Linked DNA regions of Homo sapiens: regions 2, 3, 4, 5 and 6 are each linked to region 1. The links are contacts of gene promoters, found by promoter capture Hi-C in blood cells and fetal thymus (Javierre and others, 2016). All regions are on one chromosome and are shown on one strand. Each heading gives the region's core, a stretch centred on a gene start or on the middle of the fragment in contact. The rest is flanking DNA. Distances are from core to core; before and after follow the strand shown. Region 1 holds the start of MPPE1 (metallophosphoesterase 1). Region 2 holds the start of VAPA (VAMP associated protein A). Region 3 overlaps VAPA (VAMP associated protein A). Region 4 overlaps RNMT (RNA guanine-7 methyltransferase). Region 5 has its middle 43 kb from the start of LINC01887. Region 6 has its middle 2.5 kb from the start of SEH1L.

Region 1 (3,975 bases), core at 560-3,059:
CATTTCTGCCCAACATGTGTGAATAATCACTGCAAGCCATAATTGGGAGCCAAATATTTTATCTTTAGGCTGGGCGCAGTGGCTCATGCCTGTAATCCCAGCACTTTGAGAGGCCGAGGTGGGTGATCACCTGAGGTCGGGAGTTCAAGACCAGCCTGACCAACATGGAGAAACCCCGTCTCTACTAAAAATACAAAATCAGCCAGGGTAGTGGCACATGCCTGTAATCCCAGCTACTCGGGAGGCTGAGGCAGGAGAATCGCTTGAATGCGGGAGGCGGAGGTTGTAGTGAGCCGAGATCGCGCCATTGCACTCCAGCCTGGGCAACAAGAGCGAAACTCCGTCTCAAAAAAAAAAAAAAAAAATTTATCTTTGAACTTTTCAATTTGTATTTATTTATTTATTTATTTTTAGAGATAGGGTCTCACTCCACCGCCCATTGTAAATCAAAAATGAAATCCTAAGACCCCTCAACCATCTGCATGGACCCCACCAAGGGCATTCCAGAGTTAACCTTGTTTTAGGTTGTTTTAAGCAAAACTTGTTTAGGCCATGATGGGAAGTGGGGGTGGAACTTGACACATTTCATCCTCCTCCCTTTTAGAATTCAGGAAAAGCAGACCAGCATTTAACATGCTGGACACTTAACTTACCTGGAGGCTTCATCTGCATGATAAAACTTCAGTCTCCACAGCCTCTTATTGTAACCCAAACATTCCTTTCCATTGATAATAAATCTTTCAACCAAATGCCAATCAGAAAATTTTCAATCTACCTATAACCCGGAAACCCCCGACCCACCCACCTCCTCAGCTGTCATACCTTTATGGACCGAACCAATGTACATCTTAATCTTACATGTATTTGACTGATGACTCATGGCTCCCCTAAAATGCATAAAACCACACTGGGCCCCGACCACCTTGCGTACGCGTTCTCAGGGTCTCCAAATGGCTGTGTCACCAGCCATGGTCACTCATATTTGGCTCAGAATTAATCCCTTCAAATATTTTATAGAGTTTTGACTTTTTGTCAACCGCAGGCTGCGTCACAGCTCGCTGCAGCCCCAAACTCCTGCGCTGAAGCGATCCTTTCCCCCACAACTTCTCGAGTAGCAGGGACTTCAGGTGCGTGCCACTACACCTGGCTTTTTTTTTTTTTTTTTTTGGTACTTTTGTTGTTATGGTGGGGGCGGGGGACTTGCTATGTTGCCCAGGCTGGTCTCGCATCTCTGGGATCAAGCCATCCTCCCACTTCAGCGTCCCAGAGTGCTGGAATTACAGGCCTAAGCAACGGCACCCAGCCTATCTTTTAATTTTTAACTTCAAAGTTATCGTTAAAAATCTAATCCCCCCAAAATATGAAAAAAATACTTAATATGCACTGACCTGTAGTTTTTCTCTAATTCACTATCTTAAATATATTAATTGCAATCTCATCAACTGCGACTTGCATTTGAAATTTTCCACCTTAAACGGTATTTTTTGATAAGATGGATTTTTTAAAAAATCTACACCAGCAAACTAGAGTGAGAGACCCCTGCAAAGTAATACATGGGCCTTAAGTCACCGAGATTTTCCAGCAAATAATTTGCAGAATGCTGTTTTTCCTAGGTTAACTTGCAATCCTAACACGGAAGGAGGTTCCGTTTTTAGAAGTTTAAATGTTGTCACACGGGCGCAAGAATACATACAACAGCCATGCTTTCCAGCTCTGCGCACAACGCCAGGCAGATGGGGAGCACCGGGCGGTGCGGGAGCCCTTTCACCAGGGCAGGGTGGCTTCGGTGGCCGAGGGACCCGGGAACTGCAGCCGGAGCCGGCGCGCACCCAGCCAACTTCCTGTTTCCGCGGTAGCGCGCGGGCCTGTCACTGAAGCCCCGCCCCGGCGACCTCAGGCGGGCGGGGAAGACCGAGTCTTCCCGGAGCCGCTTCGTCCGCCCGGCGCCGGAGTCCCACGGCCGGTTTGCGGAAGCGGGTCGTCTGAAGGGGCCCGGCGGGTGGCTCCCGGGTCTCCGCGGCCTGTGATCCCCAGAGCGGACAACCGCAGCTGGGGCTCCGTGCGCAACTCGGAGTAAAGGCCGGAACCTACGCTCGGCGGCCGCGTCCCGGCCCCTAGCGCCCTCCGCGAAGTGCCTGGCAGGCTCGGCAGTCTGAGTGTCGCGTTACAGAGTCCCCTGGGCAGTCACCGCTGAAGGGCGGGGGACGCGGGAAAGGCATTTTGGGGACACAGGAGAGCTGCGAGGGCGAAGCACGGGCGAGCTGTCGTTAGGGCCCAGGAAAGGCCCGTTGCGGGGCGCACAGGCGGGCAGGGGAACTCGCGCCCCGCGCCGCGCGCCCGGCCTCCTGACGCCAGGGCCGGCTTCTGAGCACAGCCACCGCGGCGGCCGGGGGCGGCCACTGCTCCCCGCGAGCCCGCTTCCGCGCCCCAGAAGCCCCCAGAGCCCGCGTCCGAGCTCCAGGCCTTGGAGGAGCCAGGCGGGCAGCTGACAGCCCCGGAGCCGCTCCCGGGTTCCGCGCGCGGTGGCAGCCAGGCCGTGCCTCCCCGTTCCCCTCCCGCGCCGCGCTGCCCCTCCGGGACCCACCAGGCCTGGCTGCGCCTCTTTCCTCTCCTCCCCCGGAGCCTTGGAAAGTGCCCTCCAGAGATGTGCTTAGGAAGTGTGTGATGAATAAAGGAGACAATCAGGATAACTATAATATTTATTATGCACTTGCTTTTTTCTCACTGATGTTACTAATTTTAATGGTGTAGCGCGGCGCGTTCCAGTTTTCTAAGTGCTCTCACATCCGTTCAAAAAATCCTCAAAATAAGCCTGTATATTAAAAGCAGGAGCCATTATTTCATATTTCAAGAAGTAAACATGCTCAGAGTAATAATCCACATAGAGCCTTCCAACCAGTCAATTCTGGTACATTTTCACAAATCTATGAGTGTGGTTAATACACGGAGATGTGGTTTGAGGAATTATATAGGACACAGCCAGCAAAATGCCTGGTATACAATAAGTATGCGGTAAATGGTTATTATTATTAAGAATATTGTAATATCTTCAGATATGATCAGGTGAACAACTTTGACATAATCGAAACTGGGACAGCCTGATTCCATAAACACACTAATATGGCACCGTGGATTGTTTGCAGCCTCACCTCTAAAGTATTCTCTCTGACTAACAAAGAAAGGGAAACTAGAACCAGTTAAGCTTATAACACTAATCACAGGCTAAAGGAAATACAGGGGCCAAATGAACCCATTAGATTACACCACCAGGAAGTAATCTGCCAAATCCAGAATGTGGGAAATTCTACAAACCAAATGACCCAATTTCTTTTTTCAAAAATAAATGTTCAGAGGCTGAAGTGGGAGGATTGCTTAAGGCCAGAGTTCAAGGCTGTAGTGAGCTATGATCACAGCTGTGAATAGCCACTGCACTCCAGGCTGGGCAACACAGCTAGACCCCCCATGTCTTTAAAAAAAAGAGGGTGGGGGGACCTTGAGAGACACATTAGCCAAATGCAATTTGTGGACCTTGTTTGGGTCATGATTAAGACAAACAAACTTTTACATAAATAAATGGCATTTTTAAAAACATTGGCGGCCAGGCGCGGTGGTTCTTGCCTGTAATGCCAGCACTTTGGGAGGCCGAGGCGGGCAGATCAGGAGGTCAGGAGATCAAGACCATCCTGGCTAACACGGTGAAACCCCGTCTCTACTAAAAAAAAAAAAAAAAAAAAAAAAATTAGCCGGGTGTAGTGGCAGGTGCCTGTAGTCCCAGCTACTCGGGAGGTTGAGGCAGGAGAATGGTGTGAACCCGGGAGGCAGAGCTTGCAGTGAGCCCAGATCACGCCACTGCACTCCAGCCTGGGCGACAGAGTGAGACTCCATCTCAAAAAAAAAAAAAAAAATTGGGAAACTTAAACATGGACTGAATGTTAGGTGACATTAAATAACTTCAGGTAATTTTATTACGATAAT
Region 2 (3,975 bases), core at 401-2,900, 2.0 Mb before region 1:
CACAATGTGGAAAAGGACCCAAGCAGGCTGCCCCTGCAGGCTGGGGTGGCCAGTTTTTATTGGCTTATTTGTCCCTGCCCATGCCCTGCTGATTGGTCCATTTTACAGAGTGCTGATTGGTCCATTTTACAAACCTCTAGCTACCTACAGAGTGCTGATAGGTGCGTTTTTACAGAGCACTGATTGGTGCATTTTACAAAACTCTAGCTAGCTACAGAGTGCTGATTGGTGCATTTTACAATCCTCTTGTAAGAAAAGTTCTCCAAGTCCCCACCCAACCCAGAAATCCAGCTGGCTTCACCTCTCACTCCCAGGAATTTCAGGGCTGAAAACACATTCCTCGTGGGTGGCACAATCTTCTGTGAATGCCAGGCTAGCAATTCCAGCAGGCTGTTCCTGGATGGACCCTAATACCTGGATCGCACATGAAAACTTGGATTTGGTGCCTACTTCTAGACTGCTGTTTCGTCTCGTTTATTTTCTAGACAAACTGTGCTGCTCCATGGCAGTAGCATCAATATGTCTTTTGTTTCGTGGCGCTACCTAGGGATTTAAATTCAAACCGTATCACAAAATACAATAAAGGTTTATTTACAGCACATTGGTTTCATTTGACGTTCCTGTACCGGACTACCCTGGCAATCGGCTAAAGTTTTGTCAGCAAGTTTGCTGCTGGGATTTTTCTTATTTGGTTCAGTTTACTACAGCCTATCGTAAGTGATGCAGATGGAGTTAGTTTCTAACATGTGAACGTGAGAACTGTTTTGGTTTGGGTCCATCATTAAAACTGAAGAAGATTATTTGGGTTCGATGGTGTAGATTTTTGACTTTTATTTCTAGTTTCTGTGTGCTTTGTCATATTTCCCCTTGCTTCCTAGACGAGGTGTGTTTCCTTATCTGATTTTGCATCACTGGAGAGAACTCAGGAAGCAGGAGAGGCTGAATTGGATACCACGGGGAATGCAGCCCTGCCAACAGAGGACTGGATAGAATTAGAGCAAACGGACACATCCCCCCACGCCTGTTCTCCACAGGGCAGATTTTATTAATATATTTCTAACATTGGGGCCTCGTTTCAGTCTTCAAGTTTTTTCTTTTTTAGCGCAAACTAGACGCGCTCTGAGAGCCAAAATTAGCGTCCGCGAACCCCACCCCATTGCCTCCAACAGACCTAGCTCTCCTTTCCACCCTCAAACAGCCGTTACTACAGTTCCCAGCAAGCACCGCGCAGGGCCGCAAAGGGCCAGGCCCTCGGCGAAGGCCCCGCCCCGCAGGGGGCATGCCGGGAGTTGTAGTGAGTGGGCGCTTCCCTACTACTACTTGTCCCTTCCACTGGGCATTCCCACTTGGAAGAGTGTGATGCGCTGCCAGAGCAGTTTCTCTAGTTCCGTACTCGGAGCTCAAGGTGACAGAGGACTGCGCTTCCAGCCCTGCGCTGCGCATCGCGTCGGTCCCGCGGACCTTTGCCCCGCCTCCTTCCACACCCGTTCCCTTGACAGCTGGGCTGCGCTCCGGGCCGCGGCAAGCCGCGAGCGCGCAGGCGCAGCAGCCCCGCGCCGCGCTAGGCCGGCCTGGAGGGCGGGACAAGCGCTAGAAGCTCCCGGCCGGGGGCGCGCACGTAGGCACGCAGAGGCCGTCACGTGGGTCGCCGAGGCTCGCAAGTGCGCGTGGCCGTGGCGGCTGGTGTGGGGTTGAGTCAGTTGTGGGACCCGGAGCTGCTGACCCAGCGGGTGGCCCACCGAACCGGTGACACAGCGGCAGGCGTTAGGGCTCGGGAGCCGCGAGCCTGGCCTCGTCCTAGAGCTCGGCCGAGCCGTCGCCGCCGTCGTCCCCCGCCCCCAGTCAGCAAACCGCCGCCGCGGGCGCGCCCCCGCTCTGCGCTGTCTCTCCGATGGCGTCCGCCTCAGGGGCCATGGCGAAGCACGAGCAGATCCTGGTCCTCGATCCGCCCACAGACCTCAAATTCAAAGGTAGGCAGAACGGGGACACCCCCGGGTGGGGTGGGGCGCGCGGACCGCTGGCTGTCGGCGGGGGGGCGCGGAGGGCACGTCCGCGGCCCTGGCCCGAGGGAGCGCCCCCTCCCCCACGCCCCGGCGCCTTCCCTTTCCCGGCTGCTTTCTTGCCGCCACCTCGGCCGGCCTGCCCCTTGCTCCGGCCCGCTTCATCCCCTCCCGCCCGCCCTCGCTGCGGTGCGCGCGCCGGCCGGGGCGAGGCGGAGGGGAGCCCGGCCCTGGCGCCGCCGCCGCCGCCATCTTGCGGTCCCGCGGGGGCGCCTCCTGGGCGTCCGGTCCCGCCCGCGCCGCGGTCCGCCTGGGCCCGCGTCCTTGGCCCCAGAGGCCGACGGCGTGCTTCGGCGGGGCGTGGGCGGCTGGGCACCCGAGGGCGTGCGCTCTGGGCTGCGGCGGGGAGTGGGCTCTGGAGGTGGCGCAAGCTGCGTCTGTCGCCCGCTCCCGGCTGTCAGCGGCGCGGGGAGGCTAGGGCACGGCGCGGGACCCCTTGGGAGTGAGAGCCGCCCCCCGACCCCTGCCCCGGCCCGGGGAGAGCTCGCTGCAGCCGGCCCTCGGGTTCCGCGGAGGGCGTCGCTTGTCACCTTTCCGCCAGGTTTAGAACTCGGCCGTCAGGTGTAGGACGCGCCGGGGAGGTGGAGAGTCCTTGGAGGTGCCTGGCGAGGGCTGCCCGGTGCTGTTGGCACGGACCCAGGTGCGTGCGGGCAGGAGCGATGCGTCAGCCGCAAACGGAGAGTTGTAGGTTCATAGTAGCGGGGCTTCCTGCCTTCTACGACATTTCAGTGTGCCACCCGCGTGCTTTTATTTAGCCCTTTAGTTGAGCTCCTCTGCTGAGAAACCTTCAGTGCGTGTGACTTTTTTGCTTTTACGTTTGCGGTTTCCGACAGATCCTGAGAAGGCTGATAAGGTGTCACCCAGCTCTGGAACTTTGTAGGTTTTTGTAGTACTGCCTGTGATAAGTTTTTTAGTCTGACTTGGTGATCCTGGAAGAATCCCAGGGGCTTTTGGTCGGTTTCCTTGTCAATATGTAGTGTACTTTAGGAAAGAGAGTTAAAATGTACAGATTTTTATTTTTTTTCTTTGTTTTTAAGGAATACTGAAAGAGTGTGAACATCTAATAGAAAGTAGGTTCCTTCCTATCTTTAGTTAAGTGTAAAGTGAGTCCCGTTTTGGAAGTCTATGTCTTGTATTTCAATTGTTGAATGAGAACAATTTTTGTGAGGTGTATAGCAATTCTAGTGCTAAAAGAAAAAATTAAATCCTTTATTGTTGTGTAAGGCTGAGTCCAAGAGAAAGCCAACTACATTGTTTTCCATAGGAAAAACTTCAGGTTTAGGAATTTAAAATATATTCTGGAATTATGAGATTAATATTGCATAACTACATTGCAAGCTTTTTAGTGCGTTTACAAATTTCTTTGAATAGAAGTGTAAGTGAGCTACTTGTTGGGTAAGGATTTGGTTTTAAGGTGCAGTGAATGTATTTTATTGCAAGTTTATGTAAGTTGTGTGATTTTTACGTAGTTGTAGCTGGGGGAAAACCTTTGAGGAATTATGAAGAGTCCTGACTCAGCCATTATCTTGAGATAATTTAATGTAAATCTGTATGGTGTGTTTTTTTTTAATATTTCGTTTTTATCTTTTGATTGGCTGTGTTTACAGTGAACATTTCCTCTACTGGATAACTATGTGTAAATTGCCATTAGGGATTTATAAGCCTTTACAACCAGTTTTAGGCCAGGAAATGTCCACAGAGTTTGAAGTTTTCTCCTTAGGGAAGTTGTTATGTTGCTATAGTAAGGGAGTAATAATAGTGGAGAAGCAAGTTTAAAAAACAAGCAAAAGCCCTACACAGTGACTTACTCATATATTTCCTTTTTTGGGGGTGTTGGAGAATTACAGCTATGATTATAGAACTCATTGTTTTTGTGTTGCCAGTAAAAATAAGACTAGCCAGGGAAGCAGAAAAG
Region 3 (3,975 bases), core at 1,067-3,566, 2.0 Mb before region 1:
CCTCGAGGGGTACCCGTCTGCTTCCAAGCACTTGTCTGGGTAGCGGAAAGAATATCTTTATTTCACACCTACACGCCATGGATCTTTTAAAGGATGTTGTTGGTTACTTTTACTTCATCTGCCATGACTTCCATAGTTCTGTTCTTTGATAAAGATGTGCTCCTTAGGGTGCTCAATAGATTTCTTTCAAAAGCCACTGTTTACCTCTGGCAGGGAGGGGAGAAGTGGAAACAGTGAGAATGACATAGATGGGGCAGGGCTGGAAAATAGGAAGAGTGAACCAGGGAAGTAGGTGAGAGAGACTTTATTCCTGGTTTCTACTCTTTTTATGCTAGTGTTCTGTATGAGATTTTATTTGAGAGATGATTCTGCTGCTGGAAAAGTAAAACAAAAAAGCTGGGCTGGGCGGGTGGCTCACACCGGTAATCCCAGCACTTTGGGAGGCTGAGGCGTGTGGATCACCTGAGGTCAGGAGTTCCAGACCAGCCTGGCCAACGTGGTGAAACCCCGTCTCTATTAAAAATACAAAAATTATCCGGGTGTGGTGGTGGGTGCCTGTAATCCCAGCTACTTGGGAGGCTGAGGCAGGAGAATCACTTGAACCCAGGAGGCAGAGGTTGCAGTGAGCGAGATCACGCCATTGTACTCCAGCCTGGGTGACGAGCAAAACATCGTCTCAAAAAAAAAAAAAAAACAAAACCCTTGAAGACCCACTGGCTTACAGAATTTCAGACCCTATACACAGGCCCACCATAATTTTTTGCCAGGTTCACTTTCTTGCTCCTGTCTGTTCACTATCCCTTTTAATTCCCCTAGCCCTGTGGTTCTTAATTCACACTGCATGTGAATCACCTAGTGAGCTTTAAAAAGTTACAGTTGACCAGGCTTGCCCCAGACCTAATGAGTCACAATCACAGGAGTATTAAAAGTTCTGTAGATGTTTGTGATGTGTAGCTGAAACTGAGAATTACTGTTTATATAGGACTAATTAGCATGAGACCAAAAAAACCCAACTCCAGAAAATCCAGTAATGCAAATAAAACTGTGCCATTAGGTGTACTCTTTTAGTTAGTGTTTATTTATAAGCACAATAAAGGAATCATGGGAGAAAATATTGCCTTGTACTGAAAAAAGTAAAAAACTGTCCTGCCATTTATCAGATTGGTTAACAGACAGAGATAAAGACAACTGTGTAGTTAACAGGTATTAGTATTTTTCCCAAGGTTCACATTGCACACAGTGTCATAACAACCTCCTGCTTGGAGTGACTTCTGCTTTCTTCTGAGAAACCTTCTGCTCTAAAGACATAGTGCTGTGTGAAGCCATATCAGCAAGAATGAAGCAGCCTACTCTTGACTGGAGGATCTAAGTCATTTTGACACAGAGAAGCACCCTCATTTTCCAGTCCAGGTGCAGAGCTTCAGATAAGGGTTTCCTATGTACATTTCTCATCTAAATTTGTAGTTTCTGAAGAAACAGTATTCTTTCTCTGCTTTGCAGTCGAGACCTGGTGCTACCACTTTACACACAGCCCTCTGCTTTGCTTTGAGCATATAAAAACACTGTTACTTAAATTTCACGCTAAACTGTTTCCTTCCCCCAAATTCTGTGATACCATATCTCTGTTTACGGCAAGAACACCCTTTTGTGCCTCTGCTGTTCCGGTTCCTTAGTTGCAGTGTGTCAGTAAACCCAAATGGCAGACTACAGGTCTGGGTAGTTTTTGGCTGATTGGGCTAGGACGGATGTAACTGATTTTAAATACCATGGGCCACCTTGGAAGTACTCTTCTTTAATTATATTTTTAGTGGGATTTAAAAAAAGGTAAATATAGCCTATCTAACTTTTGCTTTTTAGGAATACATTTCTCAGCTCCAGTTTTAAAAAATCAGTGTTATTGAGGTATAATTTATATCCCATGGAGACACCCACTGTGAGTGTACAATTCATTGATACATAGAACTTTGTAACCATCACTATAGTTCAGTTTTAGAATGTCTATCACCCCCGGAAAGTTTCCTTATGTGGTTAGCAGTTAATCCCCTTTTCCGTCCCCAGCCATAGGCAACCACTAATCTACTTTCCGTCCCTATAGATTTTTAGCTCCAGTAGTCTCGTTAGTATGCTTGTTTTTAAAAACCTTTTGTGTGTGTGTTTTTTTTCTAGGATGAAGGTTTAAGGCTCAGAAAGGTAGCACATTCGGATAAACCTGGATCAACCTCAACTGCATCCTTCAGAGATAATGTCACCAGTCCTCTTCCTTCACTTCTTGTTGTAATTGCAGCCATTTTCATTGGATTCTTTCTAGGGAAATTCATCTTGTAGAGTGAAGCATGCAGAGTGCTGTTTCTTTTTTTTTTTTTCTCTTGACCAGAAAAAGATTTGTTTACCTACCATTTCATTGGTAGTATGGCCCACGGTGACCATTTTTTTGTGTGTACAGCGTCATATAGGCTTTGCCTTTAATGATCTCTTACGGTTAGAAAACACAATAAAAACAAACTGTTCGGCTACTGGACAGGTTGTATATTACCAGATCATCACTAGCAGATGTCAGTTGCACATTGAGTCCTTTATGAAATTCATAAATAAAGAATTGTTCTTTCTTTGTGGTTTTAATAAGAGTTCAAGAATTGTTCAGAGTCTTGTAAATGTTATTTTAATAATCCCTTTAAATTTTATCTGTTGCTGTTACCTCTTGAAATATGATTTATTTAGATTGCTAATCCCACTCATTCAGGAAATGCCAAGAGGTATTCCTTGGGGAAATGGTGCCTCTTACAGTGTAAATTTTTCCTCCTTTACCTTTGCTAATATCATGGCAGAATTTTTCTTATCCCTTGTGAGGCAGTTGTTGACTGAGTTTTTCATCCTTACAATCCTGTCCCATGGTATTTAACATAAAAAAAAATAAAACTGTTAACAGATTCTTGCTCGATAGCTTGTTTGTGTCTGTCGTGTTATTAGAGGGAACTCCACTATATATGGTCACTTGAAATTATGATGCAAAGGTTTCTCTTGCATTGAAACCCTCTTGGATATTACAGTATTTTTAATTGAAAGTCCTAATTCTGTTAAGGAAAGGAGTTGATTAAATTTTAAGGTACCACTGGTATTTTGGGAGATTATAATCAGTTTGTTTTCAAGATAATAGAAAATAAGGTCCATGAGAATAGAAGTTATGTGATTTCAGTGAGTTGATGTGTACAGCATGGCTGTGCTCCATCTGATTTACCCCATTCTTAAGTTCTGAGAGTATGTTCTCAAGGAAGATTTAACTCTCTTTGGTTTTAAATTACTTTTTAACCAGCCTAATAAATAAGTCTTACTACTTTTCATAATATTTCATAATAGTTAAAAGTAGGTGTTTTTTTCGTGCTCAATTTGGCACTCAAAATAATGTTCATTATGGAAGTTTGGTAATACTGAGCAAGCCTGTGGAATTTTCTTTATGAAAAATGATTTTAGCCTTTGCAAATGTTAACCATGTGAAACACATTTTCAGTATAAGTATGCGTTACAGGGTTTGATACTTTCCTGCACTTAGGTTTGTCCTATTCTTCATTTATTCATACTAGGATAGAAAATTTTGGAATCAGAAAATAGATCCAGTGTTTAGCTACATACAATCTAGTACAAGTGAATTTTTATTCTTAAACATAGGTGTGTTGGCTCTTTTTTTAAAAGATGCGCTCTACCTGAAAAGGAAATTGGATTTTAGAACTGGATGTGGTGCAGTGAAGTATTTTAGGCCCAGGTCTGTGTACACATTTTATAGAAGAATGAAGTACTCTGAAGTATTTTGGTTGCCTTTTCATTTCAACTGTGTTTTGAATTTGTCAGATCACACATATATTGTGTTATTGGGCGCTGTGGTATCTTTTATAAAACCTCTTGCTTGTGTGCAAAAGTTCCTAAAAGGAAACACAAGTAATGCCTATCCATTACTAGCATGCTATGCTGCATGCTTTACTG
Region 4 (3,975 bases), core at 1,052-3,551, 1.8 Mb after region 1:
TTTCCTGTTTCACCTTGATTTTCTGTGATACCAAAATCTCAGCTTCACAAAGTCATTGAAAGGTATGTAGTGTAATCTATTCAGCTGGAACTGTGCTGTACTTAAAGCTGGTAGTTTCTGTGATATCTTCCACATTAGGTTCTGTGGTGCCTGTTTGTTATGGTGCCAACCATGCAGTTTGGGAACCAGGGTTATAGAGTAAGGATCAGAACCAAAATGGAACTAGTGCATGTGTATCGCCACTTCATTTGTCAGCTTTAATGCCAACAGTGACTTTTATGAATAAGATTATAGAATTTTGGGGGGATTATAATTAGTACTGCCATATTCAGAAATTCATACATAGTATCAGTTAACATTTTTTAATATGCTCTCTACAATGAGATTTTTTTAAACTCCTAGTTGATCAAATTCTAGTTAAAATTATTTTAGGCCAGGCGCAGTGGCTTACGCCTGTAATCCCAGCACTTTGGGAGGCCAAGGCAGGCGGATCACCTGGGGTCAGGAGTTAGAGACCAGCCTGCCCAACGTGGGGAAATCGCGTCTCAGCTAAACATACAAAAAATTAGCCAGGCGTGGTGGCAGGTGCCTGTAATCCCAGCTACTGGGGAGGCTGAGGCGGGAGAATCACTTGAACCCCAGAGGCGGAGCTTGCAGTGAGCCGAGATCATGCCATTGCACTCCAGCCTGGGCGACAAGAGTGAAACTCCGTCTCAAAAAAAAAAAAAATTGTTTTAAAGTCTTAGTGTTTACAAGTAATACCAATTTTTTTCCTATTCTAGTGTTGGTTCATGAAGTTTTACCATCAATTCAAGTAATCATAAATGGCAAATTCTGCAAAAGCAGAAGAATATGAAAAGATGTCTCTTGAACAGGCAAAAGCGTCAGTGAATTCTGAAACAGAGTCTTCATTCAATATTAATGAAAACACAACAGCTTCTGGGACTGGGCTTTCTGAAAAGACTTCTGTCTGTAGGCAAGTAGACATAGCAAGAAAGAGAAAAGAGTTTGAAGATGATCTTGTAAAGGAAAGTTCTAGTTGTGGGAAAGACACTCCATCCAAGAAGAGAAAACTTGATCCTGAAATTGTCCCAGAGGAAAAAGATTGTGGTGATGCTGAAGGCAATTCAAAGAAAAGAAAAAGAGAAACTGAGGATGTTCCAAAAGATAAATCTTCTACTGGAGATGGCACTCAAAATAAGAGAAAAATAGCACTTGAGGATGTTCCTGAAAAGCAGAAAGTATGTTCAGTGTATTTTCATTTATTCATAATAGAATATGTAAGTTTGAAATGTGGAACACCCGTGGATTCATACTGGTTTTTACATAATAGCTTAAGAATGTTCTATTTTTAATAGATATGGTCCTAAGACAAAGTAGGCTTTTAACTCTTATGATTTCTGTTAAGGTGAAACATCTCCTGCTAATGAGATAGATTTTTTAGTTTTTGTTTGTTTTTATTTTCTAATGAGATAATGTTTATCTTATTTTAGAATATTTAACTAGAAACTTTTTTTTCCGAGACAGAGTCTTGCACTGTCGCCCAGGCTGGAGTGTGATGGTGTAATCAAAGCTCACTGCAGCCACAACCTCCTGGGCATAAGCAGTCCTCCGGCGTTTTTAAAAAGACTAGAGTATGAGATCCAAATGATTTACCTATTTTTCTTTTTTATTAGGTGTTCAGCTCTAGTTTTTTTGTCAGAGGTTATCACTTAAAGGGATAACTTTTAAAATTATACCTAGCTTTACATCCCTTTATTAATGTAATTCCTTAAACAGTTTTCAGCTTCTTATTAATGTATTTTACATACTGTTTTAGTTAAGTGAATGCAAATGCCTAATATTTAGCAAAGATATTATAGGGCAAGTTGTTTTCATCTGGAAGTACCACATTAGAAAGGAATTTGAGGCAGAATCTGGAGTTAGAGGAAAAGATTACTTTAATGAGTAAATAAAATTCTGCCATTGGCCCTTATGAGGAAAGTGACTGATAGTGAGGCTTTTGTCATCAATGGAATGTGAATTCTTGTAACAGAGGGGAGCCCCCCCTTTTTTTTTTTTTTTTTTTTGGAGACAGAGTCTCACTCTGTCTCCTAGGCTAGAGTGCAGTGGTGTAAACTCGGCTCACTGCAACCTCCACCTCCCGGGACCTCCACCTCCCGGGTTCAAGCGATTCTCCTGCCTCAGCCTCCCGAGTAGCTGGGACTACAGGTGCCCACCACCATGCCTGGCTAATTTTTGTGTTTTTTAGTACAGATGGGATTTCACCATATTGGCCAGGCTGGTCTTGAATTCCTGACCTTGTGATCTGCCCACCTCAGCCTCCCAAAGTGCTGGGATTACAGGCATGAGCCACTGCGCCTGGCTGGGAGCTTGTATTTTAAACATAGTTTTCAAACTTTTACTAGCCCCAGAACCCCTTTTTCAACTGAAAATCTTACACTTAAACCTGTTACGTAAAATAGGTCAAGGATTTGTTTGAAAGGCCTTTCAGCACATCAGTGAGATTCAGCACTTTGGCTGAAAAGGGAGGTAGGAGGATCCGAAGCCCTTTACCTATCATGGCATTTTTACAGGATTTCTAGGGCCTCAGGAAGCACAAATTGAAAACTGTTGGGTTACATGTAACATATATAATAGCATTATTATAATAGAAATCACTAACGCTGCACATAGCCTACTGAATTCTAATCTCTCTTTTTTTTTGAGAGTCTCGCTCTGTTGCCCATGCTGGAGTGCGGTGGCCCGATCTCGGCTCACTGCAACCTCCACCTCCTGGGTTCAAGCGATTCTCCTGCCTCAGCCTCCTGAGTAGCTGGAATTACAGGTGTGCACCACCATGCCCAGCTAATTTTTGTATTTTTAGTAGAGATAGGGTTTCACCATGTTGGCCAGGCTGGTCTCAAACTCCTGACTTCAAGTGATCCTCCCACCTGGGCCTCCCACAGTGCTGGGATTATAGGTATGAGCCACCTCACCCAGGCCTAATCTCTTTATATACATTATCTTATTTAATTTTCACAACAGCTTTATAATAATAATGTAATTATAGCTTATTCCTAATTTATTCCTTTGTAGAAACACCAAACATTGACTGTCATTTATTGAACTGAATAAATCAGAACTCTGGAAGAGTACTGGGTTTATTAAGACATTGACACTAAAATTAATGCAGATGAAATATCACAATGAAAATTTTAAACCTAGAGATGTTTTTCAAAATAAGGTGATATGGTTTGGGTGTGTCCCTACCCAGATCTCATCTTGAATTATAGCTCTCATAATTCCCACATGTGTGGGAGGGACCTGATGTGAGATAATTGAATCATGGGCGCAGTTCCCCATACTTTTCTCATGGTAGTGAATAAGTCTCACGAGATCTGATGGTTTTATAAGGGGTTTCCCCTTTTACTTGGCTCTCATTGTCTCTTGCCTGCCGCCATGTAAGACCTGCCTTTCACCTTCCACCATGATTGTGAGGCCTCCCCCGCCACGAGGAACTGTGAGTCCATTGAACCTCTTTTTGTTTATAAATTACCCAGTCTCCGGTACGTCTTTAGCAGCAACATTAAAATGGACTGATACACAGGGACACAGAAAACAAATCTTAGGTCTAATGATAATTAGTGAGACTTCTGTGGTTAATTGCCATTGTTTAGTGAAGTTTACCAATTCTAATAGCATTTTATCCATTCACAGGTCAAATGTTCTGAGGCTTATTTTTACCATGTTCTGATCCTTGATTTTTTTCTATTCTCTTTTATTTTCAGAATCTGGAAGAAGGACACAGCTCAACAGTGGCTGCCCATTACAATGAACTTCAGGAAGTTGGTTTGGAGAAGCGTAGTCAAAGTCGTATTTTTTACCTAAGAAACTTTAATAATTGGATGAAAAGTGTTCTCATTGGTATGATCCAACACCAAGCTACTGAGTCTTTAATTCCTATTCATTTAATTATCAAACCTTGACTTTATA
Region 5 (3,975 bases), core at 882-3,381, 1.3 Mb before region 1:
CCAAGACATGGTCACCTAATCTTTTTTCATCCAAGACAGGATCACTGCCTCATGACGGGCAATGCTGTGGAATAAACGTGCACTGGGGATCCCCTTCCTTCCCCCATACTAAAGCATAATCTCCCTTGGAGAAAGCTCCTTGCTTCCCTCCCTTTCAGCTGTCTCCCAGTCTTGACCCTGGAAGTGTCTGAAGGCCTAGCCTGTGTCTTACATTCATAGGGCAACATGTCAACGTTTTTAAGAATGTTACAGCAGCTGGGCAGGTTGGCTCATGCCTATAATTCCAGCATTTTGGGAGGTTGAGGCGGATGGATCACTTGAGGTCAGGAGTTTGAGACCAGCCTGACCAACATGGTGAAACCCAGTCTCTACTAAAAAAAAATACAAAATTAGCTGGGTGTGGTGGCACACACCTGTAATCCCAGCTACTTGGGAGGCTGAGGCAGGAGAATCACTTGAGTCCGGGAGGCGGAGGTTGCAGTGAGCTAAGATTGCACCATTGCACTCCAGCCTGGCGACAAGAGTGAAACTCCGTCTCAAAAAAAAAAAAAAATTTACAGCAGAACTTCATAATGTTTTTAAGCCGCTGTGTCAGTTCATTTCTAACTACACTCAAACTTCCTGTTACAGGGGAAAAAGCAAATATATCCATTTGTTTATGCAACTTGTATTGCTTTGTCTTTCTGGTAATTCTGCTCTCCATTCTGTGGTCATGCTCCTTCCTGGGAATGGACTTTGTCTTTTCCAAAATTCCACAGAAAAATGCTGAAGAAATAGAAGATGAGGCCAAGCATGGTGGCTCACACCTGTAATCTCAGCACTTTGGGAGTGCAAGGCGGGTGGATCACTGGAGGTCAGGAGTTCGAGACCAGCCTGGCCAACATGGTGAAACCCTGTCTCTACTAAAAATACAAAAATTAGCTGGGCATGGCGGCACGTGCCTGTAATTCCAGATACTTGGGAGGCTGAGGCAGGAGAACCACTTGACCCTGGGAGGCAGAGGTTGCAGTGAGCAGAGATCGCACCATTGCACAACAAGAGTGAGACTCCATCTCAAAAAAAAAAAAAGAAAAAGAAAAAAGAAACAGAAGACAAATGTGCTTTCAATCCAGCATTCCTCAGAGTCTGTAAGTTGGCTTTTCAACAATTTATCCACTTAGTTTTCCATTTTGATGGGGTGGCATTTCCGGTTGTGTGTCCACATCTGTATGGTTTCTGTGTTCACAGAGGAAGAAGGCAGGGCTTGGGAAGAGGCAGCCATCACTGCACATTCCCTGGGAGGGATTTTCGCATGGCCTGTGGGCTTTTGCTTGCTTATTCGGATCAGAGAAACAAATACATAGAGACTAAGGACAATTTTCAGTGTTATATTGCCCGCAGCTCTCACTGCTCGCAGAAGAGTGAGCGGGACTGTGCATGGGGCCTGGGAGAGGATATTTTCTTCCCATGCATACATGAGGGAAGGCTCTTTATTTCGAACAACTCAAAATTTAAGGGGTAGAGTTGAACACATACGAGATGAAGCATGAAAAAAAATTACTGATTTTATTTCTTTGACTTCCTGAGCACGTGCACACCAGAATGAACACTACAGCAGCCGGGAGTGTCATGGGGCCCCTTGAAAGTGAGGTGCCCCTCATCACCCACACTGTGGCCCTCCTCCCTGGCTCAGCTTCCTTTCACCAGGTGAATGGTGGCGATGGCCTCTTGACCTGAGAAACCAGCCTTCCTTTTATGCCTGTGTGCCTAAGCTAAAAGATCAACAGCTGTCTCCCCTTCAATGTGTAGATATTACAATCTGAAAATAAAATCCTCTTTATCAAAACAATAATCTGAAAATTAGCATAACGTTAGGTTCCTGGTATTATAGATGAAGAAATTAGAGAAACATTTTAATAATAGCACTGAGGAGGGATATTTTACTGCTCAGTTGGTGAGTTAGAGGATACAGTTACTGCCAAGAAATCTTTCTGCTTTTATTTTCCTTACTGAACAAATCAATGAATAATACAGATATAGATGCAAGGTGTTCTGGCCCAGTATCCCTGTGACATTCTGTATTTCCTTATCTAATTGGCTGCTTAGCTTTTTGTCCATCACGTATCTTTACTGTGTATCACCTATTTATCTCTCTGTAATTCCATCATCATAATTCCCATCCCCATCAATGTTGCCTTTCCAACTAGAAGTCCATGCAGAGTTCCACAGTTCTTAACCACACATAATGTCTCACACAAAATAACTGGTTTAGTAAATATTTCTTTTTAGTTGTTGTTTTGTGGAAATTCTTTAATTTTTGTTCATTTGAAAAGAAAAGAACATCAAGCAACCCAAAAAGTGCAAAGGAAAAAAAATTCATTCAAATTTTATTATTCAGAAATAAACGTTACCTTTGTGACTATCACTCCAGTCTCCTTTCCGTGTGGATACTGGTGAAAGGGTCAATAGATAAACACATTATTATATAGGATTCTGTTTACTAATTAAAAATAAAGTTATAACAATCGCCATTGAATTTAATAAAAGAAAAAAATGAAATAATTGTTGAAATTCAGATAAATGTTTCTTCATCAGAGGTATTCATTTCTGTAAGATTCTTCTCAAATTTAAAAAGGATTGTTTATGCTTGTATTTCTAACTATTTTAAGCATTTTTAGGCATTTTCTGTTGATTCTCAGCTCTGAAATATGGGGCAATTGGTACAATCTTGGGTCCTTGAATAGTTTTTCTTAAAATGTCCTGACTTTTAAAAAGTTATATAATCATGCCTGTAATCCCAGCACTTTGGGAGGCCGAGGCAGGCGGATCACGAAGTCAGGAGATCAAGACCATCCTGGCTAACACGGTGAAACCCCATCTCTACTGAAAATACAAAAAAAAAAATGGTGTGAACCCAGGAGGCAGAGCTTGCAGTGAGCCGAGATCGCACCACTGCACTCCAGCCTGGGCAACAGAGGGAGACTCTGTCTCAAAAAAAAAAAGTTATATTAAAATTTTTCTATTTTCAAAGTTCCTAACACTTCTCTTTTTTCACCAAAGTTTTCTAGTTCTTTAGTCTTAGTTTTATAGTTGATAGATTTAGAACTCACCACCAGTCTTTTTTTTTTTCTTTTTCTTTTTAGTTGACCTGGAATAAGTGTACATATTTATGGGGTAAGAGTGATATTTTCATACATGTATACGATGTGTAATGATCAAATCAGGGTAATTGGGATGTCAGTCACCCCCAACATTTATCTTTTCTTTGTGTTGGAAACATTACAAATCCTCTCTTGTAGCTATTTTGAAATATACAATAAATTACTATTAACTATTATTTCCCTACTCTAATATTGAACAGAAGATAGTATTTTTTCTCTCTGTGTTTTTCTACTCATTAGCCAACCTTTCCTCATCCCCCTATCGCCTCTACCCTTCCCAGCCTCTGGCAACCACCAATCTACTCTCCACCTCCATGAGATCCACTTTTTAGCTCCCACATATGACAAAATATGATATTTGGCTTTTATGTCTGGCTTGTTTTACTTAACATAATGACCTCCAGTCTCATACATGTTGCTGCAAATGACAAGATTTCATTCTTTTTAATGGATGAATAATATTCCGTTGTGCATATGTATCCTACTTTCCTCGCTTATCCTTTGATGGACACTTAGGTTGATTCCATATCTTGGCTATTATGAATAAAAGCTGTAATAAATATGGGATGCAGATACCTCTTTGATACAATAATTTCCTTTCTTTTGGATAAATACTCAGCAGTAGGATTGCTGGATCTTCTGGTCATTCTATTTTTAGTTTTTTGAGAAACATCCATACTGTTCTCCATAGTGGCTGTAGAAATCTACATTCCCACCAATGGTGTATAAGAGTTTGCCTTTCCTGCAGCCTCACCAGCATTTGTTATTTTTTGTCTTTTGGATAATAAACCATTCTAATGGGTGAGATGATACCTCATTGTGGTTTTGATTTGCT
Region 6 (3,975 bases), core at 571-3,070, 1.0 Mb after region 1:
TGTACACTTGTGATACGTGTACATTTTGGAATCTATATTATACTTCATTAAAAAGCAAAATGTTAAGGACAAAGGCAGTAAGACAAAAAGCAATGGAAATAAGAAAAAAAGCCTTACATCAGATATGGAGACTTTAGAAATTGCAAGACATTAACATATATAACTCTATATTAATAAGTTTAAATATTTCAGTGAAATGGCTGATTATTTATTTATTTGAGACAGTGTCTCACTCTGTCGCCCAGGCTGGAGTGCAGTGGCACGATTTCAGCTCACTGCAACCTCTGCCTCCTGGGCTCAAGTGATCCTCTTCCTGCCTCAGCCTCTTGAGTAGCTGAAATACAGGCGTGCACCACCACACCTGGCTAATTTGTTTTCTGTAGAGACGAGGGCTCACTATGTTGCCCAGGCTGGTCTTGAACTCCTGAGCTCAAGCAATGCTTCTACTTCGGCCTCACAAAGTGCTGAGATTACAGGCATGAGCCACCATGCCCAGCACAAAATGGCTGATTTTTTAAAGGAAGATATAAATGATCAAAATTGTCTTGACAAAAGGTAAAAAATCTGAAGAGGCCATGAATAAAATAATTTTAAAAGGTAGTTAAAATTAACTATACCTATCATCACCCAAGGCATGAGGCTGATAAAATTTTGTGAACGTCATCTACAAAATCTTCACGGAATCTTCTACAAAATCTTCATAGGAATCTTTCAGTTCCTATGCTATTTAAACTGGCGCAGAGCAGGAAAAAAAATGTGAAAGCTTCTTAACTCATTGTAGGTTATTTATTTATTTATATTTTTGAGATGGAGTCTCGCTCTGTTGCCCAGGCTGGAGTGCAGCGGTGCAATCTCAGCTTACTGCAACCTCTGCCTCCAGGGTTAGAGCGATTCTCCTGCCTCAGCCTCCTGAGTAGCTGAGATTACAGGCGCTCACCAACACGCCCAGCTAATTTTTGTATTTTTAGTAGAAACGGGGTTTCACCATGTTGGCCAGGCTGGTCTTGAACTCCTGACCTCAAGTGATCTGCCCGCCTCAGCCTCCCAAAATGTTGGGATTACAGGTGTGAGCTGCCACGCCCAGCCTTCACTGTAGGTCGTATTCTTTCCAGAATATGAACTGGAAACCTCCAAGCTTGTTTTTCCAGACTCTTATTAGCTCTCTATTTCTAGTTAGGTTCTGAATTGAGAGACAGTAGGGGATTCAGATGCAGGAGGAAGAAGACCTTTTCTCCAATTTGTGGAGGCAGCTCACATAGCTGAGTAGTGGTGGTGGTGGCAATGGGTGAGCCTGGCTTCCTGCTCGGGGGTGATGTGAACAGCAGCAGTAGCAGCAGCACTCAGCCCTAGCTCCAGCAGTACTAGCAGAGGCTCCAGGAACCTCAGCTGTTCAGAGCTTGTGGGCTCCCATGGCTGTTACTCTGTTGGACGCCTGCAGTGTAAGCTGGAGTATTGGCTCCTGGCTTTCTGCCTGCTGGTGGTAAAGGTGCCAATGTCAGCAGCCTCAGAGTCAATGATGGTAGCACTGGGTAAAACTATTTTCCCTTTCACGCTCCCAGCCCAGAGTTTCCCGTAGTTACTAGTCTCTGGGTAATCTCACATGTTCCCTTTTTGCTCTTAATTAACCCCTTGGATATATATGTAACCAGTTTCCTGTGTTAAATTCTCTCTCTCTTTTTTTTTTTTTTTTGAGATAGTGTCTCCCTGCGTTGCCCAGGATGGAGTCCTGTGGCACAATCTCGGTTCCACCACCACTCCTGGGGCATTTTTTTGTATTTTTATTTTGTATTTTTAGTAGAGAAGCGGGTCTCGCCACGTTGCCCAGGCTGGTCTTGAACTCCTGAGCTCAGATAATCTGCCCGTCTCGGCCTCCCAAAGTGCTGGATTACAGGGTAATTTAGCCACCAGGCCTGGCTGACACGACCACTTTGGAAGACAGTTTGTAAGTTTCTTATAAAACCAGGCCAGGCACAGTGGCTCATGCCTGTAATCCAAGCACTTTGGGAGGCCAAGGCAAGAGGATCGCTTGAGCCCAAGAGTTTGAGACCAGCCTGCTCAACATGGTGAAACCCCATCTCTGCAAAAAACAGAAAAATTAGCTGGGTGTGGTGGCACTGTGCCTGTAGTCCCAGCTGCTCGGGAGGCTGAGGTGGGAGGATCATCTGAACCCAGGGAATTTAAAGCTGCAGTGAGCCACGATTGTCTGCCATGACAGAGTGAGACCCTGTCTCAAAAAACAAAACAAAACCCCAAAAAACAAAACTAAACTTACTCTTACAATATGATCCAGCAATCATGCTTCTTGGTATCTACCCAAAGGAGTTGCGAACATGTCCACACAAAAACCTGTACACAGATGTTTGTAGGAGCTTTATTGATAATTGCCCAAACACAGAAACAACCAGAATGCCCTTTAGTTGGGGAATGAATAAACACTGTTACAGCCTGACAATGGAATATTATTCAGCACTAAAAAGAAATGAACTCTCAAGACAAGACATGGAGAAAGCTTAAATGCATATTACTATAAGGAAAGAAGCCAATCTGAAAAGGCTAGCCACTCCAAGATTCCCATTATATGCCATTCTGGAAAAGTCAAAACCATGCAGTCAGTGGAAAGATCAGCGGTTGCCAGGTGTTGTCGGAAGAAAGGGATGAACAGGAGCACTAAGGATTTTCAGGGCAGTCAAACTATTCCGCGTGATACTATAATGGTGGATCCATGTCATTATATATTTGCCAAAACCCACAGAATAAAACACCAAGAGTGAACCCTAATGCAAACTCTGAATTTTGGGTGATAATGATGTGTCAATGTAGGTTCACTGATCATAACAAAGGTACCACTTTGGTATGGGATGTTGACAGTGGAGGATGCTGTGCATGTGTGACAGTAGGGGTACATACGGGAACTCTATTTTCTGCTCAATTTTGCTGTGAACCTGAAAGTGTTCTAAAAACTAAAGTCTATTTTAAAAAATCCACTGTTTCACCTAATTCAACACTTCACTCCCACTCTGATAATCTCTGGCAACCAATGATCTGTTTACTGTCTGTATTTAAATTTAATTAAAACAATTTTTAAACTGTTTTGATATTTTTATAATAATCAATATATTTTGATTGGACTTTTATAGTGAGCACTTTCTTTGGAAATGAGTGTCTTTGACCTTCAAAAAAGTTATAGTTGTTATCAGTTATCATAAGAGGTGGGGCCCACCTCTTAAAGTAGCAATAAAATCTTATTTATGGTTGAAAAAGGTCAGGTCATTGCGCCACTTCTCTTTGCAGGTTTCTGTGCAATCCATCAGGGGACAGCTGGGACTAATCATTTAAAAAACTTTCCAGCCTGCTAATTTTACCATACCTCACATTTTTGTCATTCCTGGCCAAAATCCAAAGGGCAAGTCCCTTCTGCAGCCTCATTTTTTTTTTTTCTGTACTTTCGCTCCCCTGACGCAAGCTTCCACTGTCTCCCATCCTAACTTTACCACTACGCCCTCTAGAATGCCTTTTCCTGATAAGCAAAACCCCCCGAGTCGTTGGCTCCTCCACTTTCCGGTTTTGGCAGAATCCTTGATCTGAGCCAGGCCTCTTCCCAGGGGCTCTGGCCCTCTTCACTTCCTTTTCCCCGGAGGACTCTGGCTCCCGGGTAGCAAGCAGCCCACTTCCCCGGCCGCTTCCTTCCCCCGGGATGACACGTTTCTACAGGCGGACTCTTCTAATTCATACTATTTCCCTACCCCCGTGGTGGCTCCTAGCACCCCCAGGCCTGTTCTACCTGTAAAATCTTGACACATTTAAACTACTACTTCTGATCCTTTCCTCCCCGTCCAGCCTTCGCTCTTAGGCTGCCGAGCCTGGACTGCTTGTCATCCCCTCAGGCGTCTCCCCGGCCCTCCCTGCTCTTCAGCCGTCCCGACGGAGCGCGGCTCCTGACCAAACCCACGGTTCGTCTTCTCCACCTGCTCCGCG

What was found. The method cuts DNA at HindIII sites, captures the fragments that hold promoters and counts their contacts. A CHiCAGO score of 5 or more calls a contact.
Region 2: a contact is called between the fragment with the promoter of VAPA here and the fragment with the promoter of MPPE1 in region 1, in 6 of 17 cell types (total CD8 T cells, total CD4 T cells, activated CD4 T cells and 3 more). The highest score is 16.4, in total CD8 T cells.
Region 3: a fragment that was not itself captured here is called in contact with the fragment with the promoter of MPPE1 in region 1 in 1 of 17 cell types (naive CD4 T cells); the score reaches 5.7 in naive CD4 T cells.
Region 4: a fragment that was not itself captured here is called in contact with the fragment with the promoter of MPPE1 in region 1 in 1 of 17 cell types (naive CD8 T cells); the score reaches 5.5 in naive CD8 T cells.
Region 5: a contact is called between a fragment that was not itself captured here and the fragment with the promoter of MPPE1 in region 1, in 1 of 17 cell types (neutrophils). The highest score is 7.0, in neutrophils.
Region 6: a fragment that was not itself captured here is called in contact with the fragment with the promoter of MPPE1 in region 1 in 4 of 17 cell types (total CD8 T cells, naive B cells, non-activated CD4 T cells and 1 more); the score reaches 7.3 in total CD8 T cells.

What each region holds. Positions count from the first base shown.
Region 1 is chr18:11,906,508-11,910,482 of GRCh38, forward strand. MPPE1 (metallophosphoesterase 1) reads right to left here and starts at 1,810. Exons shown (of 11, transcript NM_023075.6): 1 at 1,694-1,810. RefSeq lists a silencer at 2,203-2,602. The HindIII fragment of the contact is 5,797 bases long and covers 1-3,200 here.
Region 2 is chr18:9,912,366-9,916,340 of GRCh38, forward strand. VAPA (VAMP associated protein A) reads left to right here and starts at 1,651. Exons shown (of 6, transcript NM_194434.3): 1 at 1,651-1,970. The coding sequence starts at 1,892. It overlaps LOC124904245 (a long non-coding RNA gene), which reads right to left and starts at 1,583. Exons shown (of 2, transcript XR_007066284.1): 1 at 1,347-1,583; 2 at 568-968. RefSeq lists silencers at 1,586-1,635, 1,846-2,635 and an enhancer at 2,153-2,770. The HindIII fragment of the contact is 3,402 bases long and covers 1-3,396 here.
Region 3 is chr18:9,951,887-9,955,861 of GRCh38, forward strand. It overlaps VAPA (VAMP associated protein A), which reads left to right. Exons shown (of 6, transcript NM_194434.3): 6 at 2,167-3,975. The coding sequence ends at 2,325. Among named protein-coding and RNA genes, the nearest start is that of VAPA, 40 kb to the left of the region's middle. The HindIII fragment of the contact is 9,151 bases long and covers 1-3,975 here.
Region 4 is chr18:13,730,694-13,734,668 of GRCh38, forward strand. It overlaps RNMT (RNA guanine-7 methyltransferase), which reads left to right. Exons shown (of 12, transcript NM_003799.3): 2 at 1-62; 3 at 783-1,241; 4 at 3,771-3,906. The coding sequence starts at 825. Among named protein-coding and RNA genes, the nearest start is that of RNMT, 6.0 kb to the left of the region's middle. The HindIII fragment of the contact is 5,807 bases long and covers 1-3,975 here.
Region 5 is chr18:10,581,150-10,585,124 of GRCh38, forward strand. No RefSeq gene overlaps it. Among named protein-coding and RNA genes, the nearest start is that of LINC01887, 43 kb to the right of the region's middle. The HindIII fragment of the contact is 5,125 bases long and covers 1-3,975 here.
Region 6 is chr18:12,943,508-12,947,482 of GRCh38, forward strand. No RefSeq gene overlaps it. Among named protein-coding and RNA genes, the nearest start is that of SEH1L, 2.5 kb to the right of the region's middle. The HindIII fragment of the contact is 1,374 bases long and covers 1,134-2,507 here.